Regions from separate parts of the Homo sapiens genome. Here all the other regions are linked to region 3. Evidence: promoter capture Hi-C in 16 types of primary human blood cells and fetal thymus (Javierre and others, 2016). All regions are on one chromosome and are shown on one strand. Each heading gives the region's core, a stretch centred on a gene start or on the middle of the fragment in contact. The rest is flanking DNA. Distances are from core to core; before and after follow the strand shown. Region 1 has its middle 29 kb from the start of SNORA75. Region 2 holds the start of NCL (nucleolin). Region 3 holds the start of HTR2B (5-hydroxytryptamine receptor 2B). Region 4 has its middle 14 kb from the start of B3GNT7. Region 5 has its middle 8.0 kb from the start of SNORA75.

Region 1 (2,736 bases), core at 218-2,717, 300 kb before region 3:
AGAAAATCTGTGCGTTGGAGAAGCTTCATTCAGGTGTGAGTTATGGTGCCGTGAGTCCAATATTAATGAATCAGGCTGGGCGTGGTGGCTCATGTCTGTAATTCTGGCACTTTAGGAGGCCGAGGCAGGAGGATCACCTGAGGTCAGGAGTTAGACCAGCCTGGCCAACATGGTGAAACCCCATCTCTACTAAAAACTACAAAAAATTAGCTGGGCATGGTGGCACATGCCTGTAATCCCAGCTATTCAGCAGGCTGAGGCAGGAGAATGGCTTGAACCTGGGAGGCGGAGGTTGCAGTGAGCCAAGATCATGTCATTGTACTCCAACCTGGGCAACAAGAGTAAAACTGCATCTAAAAAAAAAAAATTAATGAATCAACTGTATATTAACTTCAGTGTCTTTAAACAGAAACAAACATAAAAAAAGGTTATGCGTTGGTCGACTGAGGAAAATATTGTGACTAGGCCGGGCATGGTGGCTCAAGCCTGTAATTCCAGCACTTTGGGAGGCCGAGGTGAGCGGATCACTTGAGGCCAGGAGTTTGAGACCAGCCTGGTCAACATGGTGAAACCCCATCTCTACTAAAAATAAAAAAAATTAGCCAGGCGTGGTGGCACACACCTGTAATCACAGCTACTTGGGAGGCTGAGGCACGAGAATCACTTGAATCCAGGCAGTGGAGGTTGCAGTTTGCTGAGAATGCACCACACACCACTGCACTCCAGCCTGGGCAATAGAGTGAGACTCGGTCCAAAAAAAAAAAAAGAAAGAAAGAAAATACTGTGACCAGACCCTCACAGGTACCTAAGGAGGAACCTAATTTCTCCCAGGAGCAAAGCTTCAACATTCACTAATCCAGTGTTTGTGGTGATTTTATAGAACATAACCACCACGAATCAGGAGCATGGGCTGTACCTCCTGCTGGTTGTGTTTCTCTGGTTGCGATCTGACTGATATAGTGACAAAGTCACAGAACTGCTAATACTATTGTGGTTTTTTGCCACTACCTTAACAAATTTTGAAGAAAAGTTAAGGGTTGGTGAAAACAAAGATGTCTATTTATTCCCATCCATGCATATGAGTCCCCTGAATGCTCTCTGTGGACCCTGTGGGCATTCGTGGACCCCAGGTTAAGACCACCTGCAGGTTAACAGAGGATAATGCAAAGGCCCACACCAATCATGGTGAAGGGTGGAGGTAGCAATGTTCCCACAGGCTCTGAGGAAGCAGTGAAGCTGGAAGGCCCCACCGGGGAACTGGAGGCTGAGGGCTCAGCAGGCCTGTGGGCTCTGCTCCCCAGCTGAAGACACGGTACCCCTAGTTCTTCCTTAAGCTGTGGTTGCCCCAAGCTAGATCCATCCGAAAAAACCATGGCTGCCTACGGGTGTTGAGGAAGCGTTGTTTGCAAGGGCTGGGGTTTGCCCCAGTGGCTCTGAGGCCTCTCCCTCTCCTTGCACTAAACTCAGACAATTCTGTTCTTCTCCTATTATTCTACCTGTGATTTTAAGTGCTCCTCGTATCTGCACAAACTTACCCCCATCTCTTTTTATTGAAAAAGCAAACAGATCCCCTGATTCTTTGGGTCTGGGATGATACTTTGGCTGACTATCTGTGCCCTCCACCCACTACACCCTCCCAGAAAATGAAATTAATCTACTTAGGTTCATCACAAAGGTGGGCTGGTCGACCCAGTGGCAGACCGTCCCGCCCATGTCACCATACCAAGCGCCCTTCTGCTTCAGGTCCTGGGAGGTCAGGACTTCCTGGTGTCATCCTCAGACGGCGGGACAAGGCTGGGGCTGGATTCTTCCTGTCTGGGTTCACCTCCAATTGCTGGTGCTTCCTTAAGCACAGCACTATTGCCCCCATGTTTATGAACGGGAAAGGATACTAATTAGAACCAGCCAAAGGAAGAGACACAGGGTAGAGTCCAGGGAGGGTCCTGATGAGGAGCTGGCAGCCACCGGTGTGGCATCACCTCCTTCTTGCTGTGATGTGTGACAATTCGCAGAGTACCGCCAACGGGTGTGGCATCACCTCCTCCTTGCTGTGATGTATGACAATTCGCAGAGTACCGCCAACCACGGAAGCTTCCCCGGGCTTTGATGTCAGAATTTGTGTTGCAGTTTCCCTCTGTGGGCAGGGTGATGGAATCATTGCCTGTGAGGTTGAACTGGGTCTCTAGCTTGTTTCTTCGCCCCGGGGGTTGCTCTGACAGCTCTCGCCCTCAGGGGCCCATCATGAGTCACCTCATTAGGGTAACGGTAAACCATCAGGTGTGGTCTTCCAGGAGCCAGGACAAAGGCACAAAGGCCAGATCTCTCTGGGGAGAGGGAGCGTGTGAATTGCTTAGTACACAGCTCCTGACTTTAGCCTCCTGCCCCTCAGGCTGGTGCTTCCCCAGCTCTGACTACACATTCTGCTTTGTGAGTGATTTTACGAGTCTCACCTGGCCTGGAACTGGCAATGGGGAAATTGCTGAGGCAGGTGGCTGGCTCCAGGGCCTGGCTTGAAGATGGGCAGGAAGGCACTTACACTGCCCTCTCATGAGCCCCCCGGTACCCCCTTACAGCCCCAGACCCCAGTGATGTTCAGGCTTTTGGAGCAAGCCCTGTTGCTTTCTGCAACCTCTGTGGGTGGACTCGGACTCCTGACTGGTCACTTGCGGAAGAGAAGACCAGCGGCTCCTCTCCCTCTCGCAGGAGACTGAAGGCTGCCACCTCTGAGACCTCCTA
Region 2 (2,700 bases), core at 18-2,517, 340 kb before region 3:
GATATGATTTGTGTAAAATAACGTAAGTGAGAATATTTGCTATAGCAGTTTGTAATGGCCAAACATAGCAAAAAACCCTAACTATCCAGCAATGGTGACTAGATAAATTGTGATCCTTCCACACAAGGAATGCCATGTAGCTATTAAAAAGAATGAGGCAGCTCTACATGTGCTGATGTAGGATGAGTTACAAGATACATATAGTTAACACAAAAGAAGAGCTCAGAACAGTGTATATGATAGCGTTTGTATTAAATATAACAAATATACTTGTCTATTTGCACGTACGGCTGAATCTGGAAGGATATACAAGAGACTGCCACTGCCTTGAGACTGGGAGGCCTAGGGGACAGGAACGGGAGGGAGACCTTTTATTGTGCATCTGTTTGAATCTTTTGAATTTTGCACTATGTGTATACTTTACAATTCAATAAATACTCATGTTTTCAAAAGAAAACAAAAAAGCATTTAGAAACAAACAGGCCAGACGTGGTGGCTCACCTTTGGGAGGCTGAGGAGGGAGGATTGATATAGCTGGGGATGTCAAGGCTGCAGTGAGCCATGATCCTGCCACTGCACTCCAGCCTGGGTGACAGAGTGAGATTCTGTCTCAAAAAAAAGAAACTGGGATGACACAGCAGTGTCTTCACTTATATCCTACGCCTCCACTGCTAGCTATGCGACCCTGGACAAGTTAATTTACCTCTATGTCCCAGTTTCTGTAAAACAGTGGTAACTTTTTGGAAAGGTTATTTTGAAGAGTAAGTTAATTAATATGTAAAGAGCTGGAAGAGCGCCTGGCACTGAATCAGCATTATGAAGTGTTAGATATTGCTATTTTGCTGCCCCAGACCAACTCCAAAGCAACGCCACTTGAGCCATGCCGGCTCTCCCTGCTGCTGCTTCTACCTAAATACTTCATTCATTTAACAAATAATTTTATTTTCTTTCTTTTTTTTTTTTTTGAGATGGGGTTTCGCTCTTGTTCCTCAGGCTGGAGTTCAATGACGCGATCTCGGCTCACTGCAACCTCCGCCTCCTGGGCTCAAGCGATCCTCTCACCTCAGCCTCCCGAGTAGCTGGGACTCCAGGCGAGCGCCACCATGCCCGCTAATTATTTTTTGTGTGGAGACAGGGTCGCATTATATTACCCAGGCCGGTCTCAAGTTCCTGGACTCAAGCGATCCTCCTGCATCAGCCTCCCAAAGTACTGGGATTACAGGCATGAGCCATCGCACCCGGCCTTAACAAATGCTTTTCTTTCTGAGACGGAGTCTCGCTCTGTCGCCCAGGCTGGAGTGCAGTGGGCGATCTCGGCTCACTGCAACCTCCGCCTCCCCGGTTCATGCGCCTCGGCCTCCCAAAATGCTGGGATTGCGGATCTGAGCCACCGCGCCCGGCCTGAGGTGATTTTTAACAAGTACAGCCGTAGCTGCAGATATCCTGGTTCTGTAGGAACAATGAGGTATGGATGGATCCATAGCTGGACCTATGGATGGGATGGATCCCCGGCAGGCCCTGGACGGAGGGAAATGCTCTGGTTTGCTAAGCCCGGCATCGAGTGAGACCCACCCACAAAGCTAACCGTGGAAGTCACTGGCGGCCTCCTTCGCCCTGCCGCCGGGGAACCCTGCCGGTGGCTCTCGACCTGCTCCCGGGCCATCTGGTGACACTGACTTCGCAGCCACCACCTTAATTGGCGCATTCGACCCAAATAATAACCAGGGAACCTGTGGGCGGTCAAAGGCCCGGCTCTGCGGTCGGCCCTCCCAGGCCCCTCTCCCTGCCCTGTGAGGCCAGAAAGTTACTTCTCCGAGGCCGTTCCCCATGTCGAGAAATATCTCCCGCTTGAGGTTCTGTGGGGTAGGGGAGGTTCGTGCATTTCTCACAGAAAACCTCGCACAGACCCGCGACTGCCTTTATTAACAGCTCTCAGGAGACTGCCTGCAGCCGGGGGGTGCCTCCGGCCCCATGCTCGCGGGCAAGCAGGGATAAGCTGTGCCTCCAAAAGGGCCAACGGGAACTCCGCGGTCCCTGAACTTCCGGTGCTGGCGGACTCCTCGCTCCAGGGCCACCAGGAGCCGCGGCGTGAGTGCGTGCCGGGACCGAGCGCGGGGTCTCTGAGGAACTCCAAGGCTGCCCAAGCCTACGGACCCAGCCACATTGGCGAACCGGAGACCGCCCGATTCCACCACCCCCGCGCTCCCCTCACAGCCGGCGCCAAAAACGCCAGTCCCACGACGCAGGCCGGGACCCGCGCGCCCACGGCCCAATCAGCGCGGACCTTGCACAAAGCGAGCCCCGCCCCCACGGCGCCGTTGCCAGCCCCTCCCCCTCCCGTGGCCGCCTCGGCCCGCCTACTCCCCGCCCCGCGCCGTTCACGGTTAGAGGCTCGCGATTGGCTCATGGGGACGGCCGCGAGCTTTGGTTGGTCGGCGCGGAGTCACGAGGGCGCCGTCGTCGCCTTTCCACAGGCGATTACTGGGCAGGCTCAGTCTTTCGCCTCAGTCTCGAGCTCTCGCTGGCCTTCGGGTGTACGTGCTCCGGGATCTTCAGCACCCGCGGCCGCCATCGCCGTCGCTTGGCTTCTTCTGGACTCATCTGCGCCACTTGTCCGCTTCACACTCCGCCGCCATCATGGTGAAGCTCGCGAAGGTAAACGGCCTTGAGCGCGAGCGCAGACGTGTAGGCCTGCTTTCC
Region 3 (2,810 bases), core at 202-2,701:
CAACTAAGCAGTATTTAAAAATAATTTCTTTTCCTCTTTTTTTTTTAATCTTGGAGACAAGATCTCATTCTGTCACCCCAAGCTGGAGCGCAGTGGTGTGATCTCAGCTCACTGCAGCCTCGACCTCCCCCAGGTTCATGCAATCCTCCTGCCTCAGGTCTCCCCTGACCCCTAACCCTCAACCCCTCCGCCGCCGCCCAGTAGCTGGGACTACGGGTGTGAACCACCACCCTTGGCTAATTTATGTGGTTTTTTTTGTAGAGATGGGGTTTTGCCATGTTGCCCAAGCTGGTCTCTTCTAGACTCAAGCAATCCACCTGTCTTGGTCTACCAAAGTGCTGGAATTACAGGAATGAGCCACCGCACCTTGCCTTAAAATATTTTCATATTCCTGAATAGAAATTCTGGTACATTAAAAAACATCTGATTTCTCTTGAATATTATTTCATCTAGAATTCTTCACAAGTATTTTTTCTAATATAGTAAATTTTGAGTTTTTAAAAAAGCAGCAAATACTGAATAAAATCTGAAGTGCTCAGCAGAGCTAAAATGAACTAAGTATTTTCCAATAACATTCAACATGAGCAAAGGAATACAAATTTGAAACAAGAAAAGGGCACAAATGTCATCACTGATTTATAAGTAATTAATTTTAAAATATGCATCTATAATGATCTTTTAAAAGGAAACCTTGAGAATGCTGAGGTTCTAATACTAAGCTAGTCTTATGGTTACAGAAAACTTAAATAGCATAACTATTAAGATTTAAACACCAATTTTCTGAAATAAGGCAAAAACGTATTTTCATTACTTGTATTTTCTCCAACGTAAAGTCTATGGGGAAAAAAAGCTGTGAACCACTCCTAAACCCAGAGATCATCTGTTTAAAAATAAGCAGTAAAAAAGTTTCTGCTAAAACCTATGTATACATGTAGAATTCAGGCCTTTCTGTGCTCTTCTATATAAGGTTGCAACCAGAGCAAATTAATGGTGTTCCACAGCAAAGGCACAAAAGCTAGATAAGAATCTTGTTTCACTGCTAGAAATCAGAACTGTAGAAATCACTATAGGCTTTTAAAACGGCAGAATCTTCAAAGAATGAAACCTCTAAAATAGCTAGATTATATCTTATTTTTTCTCAAATGTGAAAAACAGCTCAGGCTTAACCCCAAACAAAACTATCTGAAGCTAAAATGATCAAGTTTATTACAGTCCCCCCAAATATTAAAGAGAGCTCTTAAAAATATAACTTGAATAAGGGCCATGAACTGGTTCAACATGCTTAACAGTGGTTTTATGAATTACAATGAATGCTGCTACTCTCTAAAAATGAATGTATCAAAGAGGAAATAACCTCCTTGGCATGCTTGCAGCTATACAACGTATTTGTTTCACTGCTTTCAACCGCCTGTGCTGGAGGCTCAGAATAAGTCAATGGGAGGAGGATTTCAGTCACAGCAGCAAGCAAGTCTAGTGAACAGATAAGATGACATGCTCAGCAAAATAACAACGAAACCAGAGGTAAGCATTTAATAAACACATATGGAATTAATCTAAAGGTTTTTTTTTTTAATCTTCAAGAATTCTGCTATCATAATCTTTCATTTCTATTCAGCGGTTTAAAAATCAAAATGAAAAATTTACTAATGCTAAAGGAGAGTTTTTAAAAACGTGATTTGTACATTTGATGAACAAATAAATGGTCTAATCTTCCTTTTGGTTTCCCTTTCTTCTCAAGGCAACTGGGAAGGTTAAAAAAATAAACACTACTTAAAACAAAAAAAGAACTGGTTTGAATTTGGCAAATTTAGTGATTAAATTTAGAACACAATTGTTGCAAAGACATACCATGAGAGATGAAATTACTAAACACAATTATTTGGATCCTAGTAATACCTTTTTTTTTCCTTCTCTCAAACTAAAGGAAATCTAAAATGACATTTATATCAGTACTCACAAACCTGATAAGACAAAGCTAATTACATATAAGGATCCCTAGCTGGTAAAACATTTATTTAGACCCTTGTTGGGCTTTGAGTGTTTCTAGGTGGGTGGCCAGCGCATACTAAAAGTTCTATTCTGAACTATTGTGTTTCGACTTTTCTATTCTTCTGTAAGTAAAGGTAAAAAGACATTCAAGGGTCAGGAAACACCTAACTTTTTATTATAACCATTGAAAAAATTAATGTGTCTTCTGTTTCATTAACTGAGCAACATCAGAAATACAGTATATTTGGAGAATTGGCTGCATTGTCACAAATGCACAACAGACTTACTAAGAAGGGAAGGGCTATGAAGTTCAAGTGTTTTTACCACTTTCAGAAATGAATAAAATAATGCAGTCTATGTATTTTGTATCTAGGGGGAACTCTCTGGCATGCAAGTTCAAACACGACTCTACAACTACGGCAGAAAAAGAGAGAGAGAGAAACTAAAAATATATATATATCCTATTTTTTTCACAGCTATCAGTTTCTTTCACTGAGCTTTCCTAAATTTAAGCCTCTAGAAAATAATAAATACTTGGATATCTTACCTACAAACATGGACAGATGTGTGTATGCGCTCATTTTAGAGAACTTGAATTTTTTTTTTTAAAGGAAGGTGTCAACTTTGGCTTTTGAGTGTTTGGCATGGTTACAATGCCTTAAAAAAACAGATGAGCAGCTTAGCTACTAACCATGCTGACCACTGTTCGGAACGGGATTGAATCACAGAAAAACAGCAAATGGCTCTCTCTTACAGAGTGTCTGAACTTCAAAGCACAATTCCTGAGCACATTTTGCAGAGCACCTTTGTTCACGTTATCT
Region 4 (2,829 bases), core at 302-2,801, 280 kb before region 3:
GGCCTTTGAGGAGGAAAGAGTTAAGACCCTGGGACCAACTAAAATCTACTGTCTAAAAAGTTGCTTCACCAGGCCAGAGAGAACCTGAGTCTGTGGGATTCCCCCACAGACTGTGTAGCTGACTGGGGGGCCACAGGACCCAGCACCCCTGGCATGCTGCTGCTCTCTGGGGAAAGGTCGTTGAGCTTGTGAGGGTGACTGAGAGAAGGGTAACTTTGTTTTGGAAGCATAGGCCCCACCGCAGCCTGTGCAGTGAAGGTAGCCAAGCCTCAGAAGCCACAGGACTGTGCAGGCCCGCTGTTCCACAGCGCCCCTGTGTGGAGAGAGAGGGAACAACTGGAGATGACTGCTCAGACTTTCCAGAGAACCCTCTCTTTGGAGGAGGGAAATCCCTGAGGTTCTTGGACAATTTGAGAGTGGGTTCCAAGAGGCTGATATTGGATTTTTCTGCCAATAATGGTACATGAGGGATTTGAGCAATCAATGAGAAAAATTAAAAAGTAACCATATTTGTACCCTGAGTTAAAGTCATATTGACTACACGTTAAATGTTTACCAGGGTGCCTGGCATATGAAATGTGCTCCATAAAATGTCAGTTGTTATCATTACCAGGAAGCAAAACTAAATGCCTGATTTTCCAGAGTGGGGCCCCACTGGAGCTGGCCAGAATGGGCCAAAGTGCGCCAGAGGGAGGGGTGGAGGTGCCTCAAAACTGCCCTCTGCTCCCTCAGGCTGCCGTGAACCCCTGCTCTTTGTCCCTTTGTGCTCAGGATAAAGTTAAAGTACTCCTGAACCTAGAAGACCTGAGAAACTGCCCTGCCTGCCTCCCAGCCTCCCACCCCTTCTCTCACCCCAGGTCCAGCCCCGAGAGGAGCTCCTTTCCGCTTCAGAATGCATCCACCCTGCTCCCAGCAGCCCTTGGTATATGTGGTTCCCTCTGCCTCATCCTTCAGGGGCAGCTGAACCCATAACCGTCTCTGGGCCTCCACCTGGGCCTGGGTCCTGTGGCCTGTACACCTCCATTTTCTGGGTGTCCCTGGGCTGCCCTCTCCCATGCTGAACTGTGAGCCCCAATCCCCTCTCTGCAGCCCAGAGCAGGACCTGGCTTCTGAGGATGAGGAGGGGCAAATAGGGCTGGCATCACAGTCGCAGGCCTCCCTCAGAAGCTCCCAGCACTTGGTTTAATGCTCAATGCTCTGCTGTGGCAATCTTAAATTCTTTTTTTTTTTTTTTTTTTTTTTGAGACAGTGTCTCGCTCTGTCACCCAGGCTGGAGTGCAGTGATGCGATCACAGCTCACTGCAGCCTCGACCTCCTGGGCTCAAGGGATCCTCCCACCTCAGCATCCCGAGGCAATCTCTGGCAACCTTGGCCCCAGACAGGTGCGTGCCACCACTCTGAGGTAATTTTAAAATTTTTTAAGAAAAAAATTAGCCAGGCGTGGTGGTGGGTGCCTGTAGTCCCAGCTACTCGGGAGGCTGAGGCAGCAGAATGGCGCGAACCTGGGAAGCAGAGCTTGCAGTGAGCTGAGATCGCACCACTGCACTCCAGCCTGGGCGACAGAATGAGACCTCTGTCTCAAAAAAAAAAAATTTTTTTTTTTGTAGAGACAGGGGTCTCTCTATGTTGCCCAGGCTGGTCCCAAATTCCTGGGCTCAAGCCATCCTCCCACCTCAGCCTCCCAAAGTGTTGGGATTACAGGCGTGAGCCTGACCTTTAAAATTCTTAATACCTTTTTAAAACCAGGGTCCTGTAATTTCATTTTGCACTGGGCTCTGCAAATTATGCAGCCGGCTGGCCAAGAGAGAACTGTGGGAAGACCTGTGCTGAGGAGGGAGAAATAGCAGTGTAGCAGGATGAGTCGCAGACAAAACTCCTCAGACACCAGATTAAAGAAGGAAGAGGTTTTTATTCGGCCGGGAGCGTCAGCAGACTCGCGTCTTAAGAGCCGAGCTCCCCGAGAAAGAAACTCCTAGCCCTTTTAAGAGCTTACAACTCTAAGGGGTCCACGTGAAAGGGTCATAATAGATCAAGTAAGCGTGAGGAACGTGACTGGGGGCTACACACATCAGCTAACAGGACAAAAAGTTTTACGGTGCTTTCTCACACAATGTCTGGAATTTACGGATAACACCAGTCGTTTTGGTCAGGGGTTAATATTATTATTATCATTCTAACCACCAGGGCCAGGTGGTGGCGCCAAGGTCGTCTAGCTATTTATCTTACTTCTGTTTCTTTCCAGCTTTTTGCTTTCTCCCTTTTCTCCCGTCTTATAAACTAGGGAAAAGGGGAGGTTGGGGAGAAGCTGGGAAGGACAACAGGAGAAGTGGTGGTCTCATTCCCTATTTCCCCCCTTTGAGAATTTTCACTTTTTAGTGGGAGTTCTCACTCTCATCCTCACTTTTTGAGTCTCTTTGCGAGATAGAGCGATAGTGATTCATATAATTCACGTGTGCTGAAGTTTTCTGATGAACCAAAGTAGCAACAATACCTTTTATCATTTGAAAAAGCAAGGGTAATACACAGGGGAGCAGCAAGCAAGTTCTTATTACTAGCAATACACCTACAATGAGGGTTTTAAATCCTCCTATAGCTGGAAACCATTTTCCAAATAAAGACTCAGGATCAAACTTGTGCCAAACCTGTATAGGCGTGTGTGCCAACTTTGTCATGTCCCTGACTATGTTTTCAATCACCTGTCCTTGATCATCTATTTGTAGGCAGCAATTGGTTAAGTTAAATTTTCCACAAACTCCTCCTTCAGCTGCCAGCAAGTAGTCCAAGGCCAGTCTATTCTGATAGATAGCATTCCTCATTTGGGTTTCCTGC
Region 5 (2,700 bases), core at 115-2,614, 320 kb before region 3:
AACTCTGTCTCTACAAAAAATACAAAAATTAGCCAGGCGGGCCTGGCGCAGTGGCTCACACCTGTAATCCCAGCACTTTGGGAGGCCAAGGCGGGCGGATTACCTGAGGTCAGGAGTTCAAGACGAACCTGGTCAACATGGTGAAACCTCACCTCTACTAAAAATACAAAAATTAACCGGGCATGGTGGCGTATGCTTGTAGGCCCAGTTACTCGGGAAGCCGAGGCAGGAGAATCGCTGGAACCTGGGAGGCAGAGGTTGCAGTGAGCCTAGATTGCACCACTGTACTCCAGCCTGGGCAACAGAGCAAGACCTTATATATATAAAAAAAAAAAAAAAAAAAAAAATTAGCCAGGCATGGTGTCACGCTCTTATAGTCCCAGCTACTAGGGAGACTAAAGTGGGAGGATCACCTGAGCCACTGGGGAGGTTGAGGCTGCAGTGAGCTGTGATTGCACCACTACGCTCTAGCCTGGGCAACAGAGGGAGGCCTGTCTCAAAAAAAACAAAACAAAAAAACTCTGGGTAAACTATTTATTTATTTTATTTTTAGTTTTTTATTTTTTAATTTTTATTTTTGAAGATGGAGTCTCTCTCTGTCACCCAGGCTGAAGTGCAGTGGCACAATCTCAGCTCACGGCAACCTCTACCGCCCAGGTTCAAGCAATTCTCCTACCTCAGCCTCCTGAGTAGCTGGGACTACAGGCATGTGCCACCACGCCTGGCTAATTTTTTGTACTTTTAGTAGAGACAAGGTCTTATCATGCTGGCGAGTCTGTCTCAAACTCCTGACCTCAGGTGATTCGCCTGCCTCAGCCTCCCAAAGTGCTGGGATTACAGGCATTAACCATCGCACCAGGCCCTGGGCGAAATATTTAAAGATCAACTTCTAAAGTTGATTTGTCTTCCAATAATACCAGATAGAAAACTGGAGCAACCCAGGGAAGATGGTATCGATCCTGGAAAGAAGGGAAGCACACTGGATGAGACCCATGTTTAACCAGCTTTTCCCCTGAGGGCATCACCCAACTTGCGTGACTCCGGGGGAATAGAGCAGAAAGTGGATGTCTTACTGTGCTGAGGAATCAGGTTGGAGTGTGAGTCGGAAATTTTGGGAAATAATGAAAATGAGGGAGACACAGAGGAGGAAACCATAAAATCTGCATAGAAATTGCCTTCAAATTCCTTTTTTCTTTTAATTTTTTCTTTAATAGAGACAGGGTCTTGCTATGTTGCCCAGGCTGGTCTCAAACGCCTGGGCTCAAGTGATCTCCCGCCTCAGACTCCCAAAGTGCTGGGATTATTGGTGTGAGCCACCACACCTGGCCAGAGCAACCTTTCTTTCTGAGACGGAGTCTTGCTGTCACCCAGGCTGGAGTGCAGTGGCTCACTGCAACCTCCATCTCCTAGGTTCAAGCGATTCTCCTGTCTCAGCCTCCTGAGTAGCTGGGACTACAGGCGCCCGCCACCACACCCAGTTAATTTTTTGTATTTTTAGTACAGACGGGTTTTCACCATGTTAGCCAGGATGGTCTCAATCTCCTGACCTCGTGATCCGCCTGCCTCGGCTTCCCAAAGTGCTAGGATTACAGGCGTGAGCCACTGCGCCCGGCCCAGAGCAACATTTCATAATGAAAAAAAGGTAAATTTACTAGAAAGACATAGCAATCTTAAATGTGCATGCAAACAATAACAGAGTTTTATAACCTGTGAAGCAAAAAATTGATAAAGAGAAATGGACAAATTTTCAATCACAGTTGGAGATTTTAACACCCCTCATTTAGTAACAGATAAAGTAAATAGACAAACATCAATAATGATATAGAAGAATTGAAAACTGTTGGTCATTTAGGTCTAGCTATTGAAAAACACATCTTCTTTTCACGTGCACATAAAACATTCACCAAAATATTCTAGGCTCCAAAACAAATCTCAAGAAATTTCAAAGGATTGGAAAATATACAATCTGATATAACAGAAATAAATTAGAAATGAATAATAAGATACCTAGAATACTCCTAAACATTTGTATATTAATTACATTTCTGAAAAACACTTCTGAATGGATCAAAGTAGAAATCACGGGAGAAATTAGATACTATTTCAAAATGAATGACAATAAAAACACATTTTGGGATGCAGCTAAAGCAGTTCTTAGATGGAAATTTATAACTTAAAATACTTTAGAAAAGAAAAAGAGTTTTAAAGTTAACTGTCTGTTTCCAGCTTAAGCATGTAAAAAAGAAAGAAGAAATACATAGGAAAAGGAAATAATAAAAATAACAATTAATGATGTAAAAAAATCAAGACAAAAATCAGTTCACTGAAAGGATAAATAAGATAAAATTGATAGTCCTCTAGCAAGACTGATCAAGAAAAAAAGAAGACAAAACACAAATAGCCATTATCAGGAATGAAAGAAGGGGTATCATCACATTATAGATTGTACTGATTATTATTATTATTATTATTTTTTTAAGAGACAGGGTCTTGCTCTGTTGTCCACTGCCCAGGCTGGAGTGCAGTGGCATGACTGTAGCTCGCTGCAGCCTGGAACTCCAGGGCTCAAGCGATCCTCCTGCCTCAGCCTCTCAAGTGGCTGAAACCACAGGTGCATGCCACCATGCCTGGCTAATTAAAAAAAATTTTTTTTTTTTAATTTTTGTAGGAATGGAGTCTTGTTATGTTGCCCAGGCTGGT

What was found. The method cuts DNA at HindIII sites, captures the fragments that hold promoters and counts their contacts. A CHiCAGO score of 5 or more calls a contact.
Region 1: a fragment that was not itself captured here is called in contact with the fragment with the promoter of HTR2B in region 3 in 8 of 17 cell types (erythroblasts, megakaryocytes, M1 macrophages and 5 more); the score reaches 9.0 in erythroblasts.
Region 2: a fragment that was not itself captured here is called in contact with the fragment with the promoter of HTR2B in region 3 in 2 of 17 cell types (endothelial precursors and megakaryocytes); the score reaches 5.3 in endothelial precursors.
Region 4: a contact is called between a fragment that was not itself captured here and the fragment with the promoter of HTR2B in region 3, in 2 of 17 cell types (megakaryocytes and endothelial precursors). The highest score is 7.2, in megakaryocytes.
Region 5: a fragment that was not itself captured here is called in contact with the fragment with the promoter of HTR2B in region 3 in 10 of 17 cell types (erythroblasts, megakaryocytes, total CD4 T cells and 7 more); the score reaches 11.9 in erythroblasts.

Annotation. Positions count from the first base shown.
Region 1 is chr2:231,425,532-231,428,267 of GRCh38, reverse strand. No RefSeq gene overlaps it. Among named protein-coding and RNA genes, the nearest start is that of SNORA75, 29 kb to the left of the region's middle. The HindIII fragment of the contact is 1,252 bases long and covers 842-2,093 here.
Region 2 is chr2:231,464,291-231,466,990 of GRCh38, reverse strand. NCL (nucleolin) reads left to right here and starts at 2,507. Exons shown (of 14, transcript NM_005381.3): 1 at 2,507-2,655. The coding sequence starts at 2,638. RefSeq lists enhancers at 1,953-2,052, 2,563-2,700, 2,098-2,700 and a silencer at 2,183-2,532. The HindIII fragment of the contact is 4,015 bases long and covers 1-2,700 here.
Region 3 is chr2:231,123,683-231,126,492 of GRCh38, reverse strand. It overlaps HTR2B (5-hydroxytryptamine receptor 2B), which reads left to right and starts at 1,451. Exons shown (of 4, transcript NM_000867.5): 1 at 1,451-1,521; 2 at 2,363-2,810. The coding sequence starts at 2,729. The region is part of intron 16 of PSMD1 (proteasome 26S subunit, non-ATPase 1); the gene reads right to left. The HindIII fragment of the contact is 5,824 bases long and covers 1-2,810 here.
Region 4 is chr2:231,407,862-231,410,690 of GRCh38, reverse strand. No RefSeq gene overlaps it. Among named protein-coding and RNA genes, the nearest start is that of B3GNT7, 14 kb to the right of the region's middle. RefSeq lists an enhancer at 1-283. The HindIII fragment of the contact is 3,590 bases long and covers 1-2,829 here.
Region 5 is chr2:231,446,545-231,449,244 of GRCh38, reverse strand. No RefSeq gene overlaps it. Among named protein-coding and RNA genes, the nearest start is that of SNORA75, 8.0 kb to the left of the region's middle. The HindIII fragment of the contact is 7,975 bases long and covers 1-2,700 here.